Regions from separate parts of the Homo sapiens genome. Here region 1 is linked to region 2. The links are contacts of gene promoters, found by promoter capture Hi-C in blood cells and fetal thymus (Javierre and others, 2016). All regions are on one chromosome and are shown on one strand. The core of a region is centred on a gene start or on the middle of the fragment in contact, and the rest is flanking DNA. Distances in the headings are between cores, read along the strand shown.

Region 1 (2,946 bases), core at 14-2,513, 5.7 Mb before region 2:
TGCATATATATTTTTGTAGTCTCAACACCTGATACATTACCTGGAAGAAGCTAGGGATGCAAATATTTGTTAAAATTCTAAACTGATAATTTCAGGACCCACACAGAGCTTCTTTCTCTATCACCCTTGTGGCAAATTGCATTAATGACCCCAGTTCTTCACCTCTCCCTATATCCACAGCTTGCCATGTAATTTGGCAGTGCCCTCCTGCTACAGGTGAGACCTAATTCCCTACCCTTCTGCTACGCCATCTAACTTACTTTGGCCAAATGGATGTTAGCAGATGTGCAGCAAGTGGAGTCTCAAAAAAAGCTTGTGCAATTAGGATGGTTGACTTGTGCTTCCACCATTATCATAAAAATTATATACCCAAAGTGGCCCACTGGTCCTAGAAGAAAGATGAGCAACAAGTAGAGCAGAGCTGCCTCAACTAAGCTACTCAGACGAGCCTAGCCTAGAGCTGAGTCCTCAGACAACCTGTAGAAACATGAATGAGCCCAGCCAGGACCATCCTACCCCAAGCTTGAAACTCCTGAGCTAAATAAAAACTATTATTTTTGTTGTTGGTTGTTGCACAGTATTACTGTGGCTATAGTTAACCAATGTGCACTCTGTCTAAAAGAGACCCTTTCCCTGTATTTCTCTGTTAGCAGTAAGAAGTCTTCAAAACTGGTTTGATATTGTCACTATTCGATACACAGAAGTCTTACAAGAAATCATGAGACCACTGCTAGGGCTGTAGTATGCATATATGTGATTTTTACAGTCCAACAGAAACACTTTCTTGCTGGGTCCTGGGGCACTATACGAAGTTTAAAAGAAGGGTAAGGATTTTGAGTTCTAAACAACTTTATAAATGTCCTTCAGGATTACCCCCTGCCCCAAGGGCATTTCTTCCACAGTAGAAATAAAACCAAATTACTTTTTTCCCCCTTTTGTTTGTTTTTGTAAAGGCAATTATTCTTATTATTAAAGAACATGGTAGCCTTGTATTGTCTTTGGAAGAAATGCTTGCTGAGCATTTATGTGGCCATCATTTTGCTAGGCTTTTACATGAATCTTAAATTATTCATCTGTCATATGAAGTCCCACTGAACAGATGACTGACTGAGGCTGAGGTTAAGCAACTTGCCTTAATTCATTACTAAGTGATGGTAAGGCTATTGGAATATATGCCTTTTGAACTCCAAAGCCAGTGCTCCTTCACTATATTATACTGCAGCTTTGGTTGCTATTACTACTGAAAATTTTGAATAATATAGAAATAAGTGAACATTTATTGAATTTATTAGTTCCTTTGAGGACACAGGAATGAAAGAAATGTCATTTAATGGCTTAAAACCACTTTCTTTTGATCCATGTCATTCTTATATGGCACTAGCAGCCACTGTAGTTGCTATTAAAGTGGCTACTACAAACTGGTATTTTTCTTCATATTGATATCCAGTTTTGGCAACATCATTGATTAAATACTGTTATCTTCTCCATTGTTTGGTTACTACTGACTTGTCATACAGATTTGACTTCTTTCAGTTTCTACACCTGTGTAATACCTACCTCATAGAGATAATGAGGATAAACTATGCATATACAACTAGAAAAGAATAAGTGCTTAATGCAGGCTGCCTAGTTGTTCTTTGCATTGTTATTTGGTTTGATTTAAATCAAGTTGCAAACTGTTGTGGTAAATGTTGCTACATAACTTGAAATGTGATGATCACAGCCATTCGGACATTTTATTTTTCTGATTTATCAAGTGTCCAGGAATTCCAAGGTCAGGTTTTAAGCCCCAACATCTCATTTTAGGCCTAGGACCAATATTAGACTATCTACTTTACAAAAGGACTTTAGGCAACTTTCTCCTCTTTACAGCTTCCATTACCCACCTTATTCTGAAGACTATTTTACCCCTTAAGGAAGCTCATATATGATATAATCAAGACAAAATAACAAGTACATATCACCTGTAAAGTATTCCTACAAATAGTTTAATCTCAGTGGAAACAAGCTTTCAGTTTATAGGAAATAGATGTTGCAGGCCGACTCCAAGATAGCCCCCAGTGATCCCTCCCCTACTGGTATTCACTGCCTTGCATAATCTACTCCCCTTGATTAACTTCCAACCAATACAATACCTTGATGTTGAGATGTCACTTCTGTGATTAGATTATAAAGATTCCAACTTTGGTCCTGCCAGCAGTCTCTCCCTTGCTGGCTTTGATGAAGCAACTTGCCACACTGGGGAGGCCCATATAGCAAAACTCAGAGAGGGCAGTCTTTGGCCAACAGCTAGCTAGGAATTGAGGTCCTCAGTCCAACCCCAAAAGATCTAAACAACAACGATGTGAGCTTGAAAATGAAACCTTCCTCAGTAGAGCCTTTAGATGAGACACCAGCCTTGGCTGATACTTTACAGCCTCAAGAGGATCCACCTAAGCTGTGTTAGGATTCCTGAACCACAGAACATTTGAGATAATATGTGCTATTTTAATCCACAAAGTTCTGGGGTCATTTATTAAGCAGCAATAGATAACCAATACTAAAGGGTTGTAGAAAAATATTTTACAAACACAAAATGTGAGGTGCTTCACATGCTGGAGTGCCCTAAACATTTCAAAAAGTCACTGATAGTTTTAAAATATGAAAGACTATTCTAGATTAAGAAGTCAAAGAAGCATATATCTAAACTATTCATAGATACAGTACACAAACCTTGATTATTTAGATCTTTTTAAAGCAAGTTATAAAAGGCATTCTTAGAGCAATGAGGAAATTTGAAATATGGACTAGATATTAGATATTATGAAATTACTAATTTCCTTAAGTGTGATATTATCAGTGGCAAGTTATGTTCTTAAAAATGCCCTCATTCTTATAAGATGCATATGGAAGTATCCAGTTGATAAGCATTTAAGTAATTTCAAAAAAAAGTACATACTATGGAGA
Region 2 (2,897 bases), core at 396-2,895:
CTGGAAAAAGGACGTTTTACATACTAAGATGGGGTGTCCCAAACTCACTCCAAAATGCCCTCTGCAACACTATTTTAAAAAAGAACTAAAAATGGAACTTTCCCATGTCTTCCAACTTGATTAAAAAACACCTATCCATTCAAGGAAGGGACAATCCAGAATCTAAGAATTATAACAGATATGATTATAAAAGAATAAATTAAAGTAAGGTAAGGTGAACTTCGACACATTATTATTTATTTACTTCCTTATATCACTTGCTGATGGATGGGATGTCAACTTTAAATCAGTGACTGCCAATATTCCGATAATGTCAGGGATACAAAGGGTGGGAGAAGAGTTGAATTTTACCACCATAAATAAGTATCCAATATCACTTTCTCAGAAAAATTTTCAACAATTCTATTGCACTAGACTTTGTAGCACAGTAAGAATCAGATACATGTTGATTACAATATGAACTCATATTCAATTCCTAGCTCCCTGACCACCAGCAAATCACTGAAGCTTTGTAGGCCTCAGTTTCTTCACATTTAAAATGAGGATTAGGAATATCTACCTTACAGGAATAAAGAAATGAAGTAACACATGTAAAACCCCCAGTAGAGTGCCAAGCACACAGCAAGCACCCGTGTGTTACGTAGTATTGTTACTACTATTATCCTGTCATCAGTAAGTGTTGCAGGTAACTGAAAGCAATTCTGAGATGTTTATCATCCATAACAGTCCTCAAGAAAATACCCAGAGGCCTTGAAAATAAAGTTCTTGAATGAGTGATTTTCTTCAAAGCCCAAAATGCGATTTTTTTAATGAAACACTGTGTTAAAAGTACAGAACGGTAGTTTAGAAAGGTAGCTCTTGAATGTGACTCACAAGGCATACCAACAGGACCCTGTCTTTTACGGGGATCACATGGGGCTGTACTATCAGCTAGGGGCTGGCTGTGCCCTCTGGTGGTTGGATACTGTGTTACTTGGTCTCTAGAACCTCACACTTAAAAGTCAGACAAGTGTCCTCAAATACTTAAATCACAGAATTTTAATTCTAGCGAGTCCTTGGTTATTATTCTGAGGGAAGATTTCTACAGTCAAAAGAGAACCAAACGTGCAGCGTCCTGGAAAACCTAAGTATTAAAATTCGCCCCCGTCCACTGTACTTGACAGTAAAAGGCATGATTCTCTCAAAGCCATACATATTCCTGGACTCCTGCCTCCCGAGACTCCAGGAGGACTCTCGGGACTGGCCAGTGTCCCAGAGCACTGAGCGTTATCAGTCCTTGGTGTGGCTGCAGGGAGCGGACGTTCAGTGTTCAGGCTGCCGGCAGCAGTGGGATGTGTTGGGGGGGACCGGAGAGGTCTGTCACTCACCATTTTCCTCCAAGGGGATTTATTCTCCAAAAATTTATTCCAGAATTTCTCCATAGGCCCCATCTTCTGTGGGGGCAGCACCGGCTCCCGAGGGCTCAGCTCCTGGTCCTTCAGCCATCGCCTTCTCAGCTCTCGCAGCTGCTGCAGCCGCAGTTTCTCATCCGGAGTGTACCCCGTCATGTCGCCGCTGGTACCAACGCAAAAGGACACGGCGCACCCTCGAACTACGGACTAGTTACTTAAGCGCGCTCCCGCTCTGCAAAGCGACCTTGCGGGAACGCCGAGCGCCGCGCGCGGTTATTACGTCACATCCTGGTTCCGCCTCTGCAAGGGCCCCAGATTCCTCGCGAGGAAAGCAGTGTGTGGGCATGCACAAAGGTCTCCACCTCCAGTTCTCTCTACGCCCACCTCCGCTATACCCGACCAAATTAGGACCGGGTGGGGACAAGGAGTACTCGTAGTTGTGGGGCCTGAGGAAAGTGACAGATTAGACGAAAGTATGCTAAATTAGAGGACTGGAGGTTTTGCTAAGGAAGAACTTGTATGCTGGGAGGAGGAAGGATAAGCATAAATGTTTCAGTGAATATGCTGGCCAGATTCAAAATTATTTGCTTGCCTCTCCCACCTTGGAATGACCTAGAGAGTGTATGAAAATAGTTACATCCCAGTTCAAATCCCAGCTATGCCAGTAACTGCTGAAGTGCCCTGGGCAGCTGTCTCATCTGTCCCTCCATCTGTACAGGAATAGTGAAAAGAGTAGCTTAATATCTAGCAAAATTGCATAGATGAATTCATGCTTTCACCCAAAAATACGTGTGGTGAAAATATGAAAGAGCATGCACGACTATTCAGCACGATTCATAATACCAAAATATTGGAAATTACCCCCAAATTCCTAAATAAAGGACTGCTTGAATAAATTGTAGTACAACAGTCAAAAGACAGCATTACAACGAATTAGTTTAAAAATCTTAATTGACTCTTATTCGTGATTCTAGAATCAAAAAACACCTCATTCTATAAAGTAGAATGAGTGTTCTGATCAGCTGAGCAGAGGCGGTTGGTTTTATTGGCAAATAGGGGCTGAAGAAAGCAGAAACCGAACAAAAAGTGGACTCATCGTTTCAAAGTTACTTTTAGGGTTAAAGCAGAAGAAACTTCCTTGTTTCACTGACTCAGACTTAAGGGAATTTCCTATTTTTTGGGAAACTGGCCCATTTCAAAGTTCAGTTTGATTGTGTGGTACTTAGCACAAACGACTCCATTCTGGTTTGGTCTGGTCTGCTGGGGCCTAGTGCGTGAAGCTAGTCCAAAACAGTGGCTTCCCAAAAACTTTCACACAACAAAGCAATGAAATGCTAATACAATCGTCAAAAGTAATAAGGAAGAACTCTATATACATCTGTGGTGTGATCTCCAGAATACATTACAAAGTGGAAAAAAAATGGATAGGAATTTGTACAGTATGCTTTTACCCAAAAAGAGAAAGATGGTGGTAATTTCAATATATATACATATTTTCTTAAATTT

What was found. Contacts are between HindIII fragments. The CHiCAGO score rates a contact against its expected background, and 5 or more counts as called.
Region 1: a fragment that was not itself captured here is called in contact with the fragment with the promoter of NDUFB6 in region 2 in 1 of 17 cell types (activated CD4 T cells); the score reaches 6.4 in activated CD4 T cells.

Annotation. Positions count from the first base shown.
Region 1 is chr9:26,899,102-26,902,047 of GRCh38, forward strand. No RefSeq gene overlaps it. Among named protein-coding and RNA genes, the nearest start is that of CAAP1, 7.8 kb to the left of the region's middle. The HindIII fragment of the contact is 1,486 bases long and covers 521-2,006 here.
Region 2 is chr9:32,571,514-32,574,410 of GRCh38, forward strand. NDUFB6 (NADH:ubiquinone oxidoreductase subunit B6) reads right to left here and starts at 1,646. Exons shown (of 4, transcript NM_002493.5): 1 at 1,368-1,646. The coding sequence starts at 1,547. RefSeq lists enhancers at 1,194-1,733, 2,004-2,053. The HindIII fragment of the contact is 6,496 bases long and covers 506-2,897 here.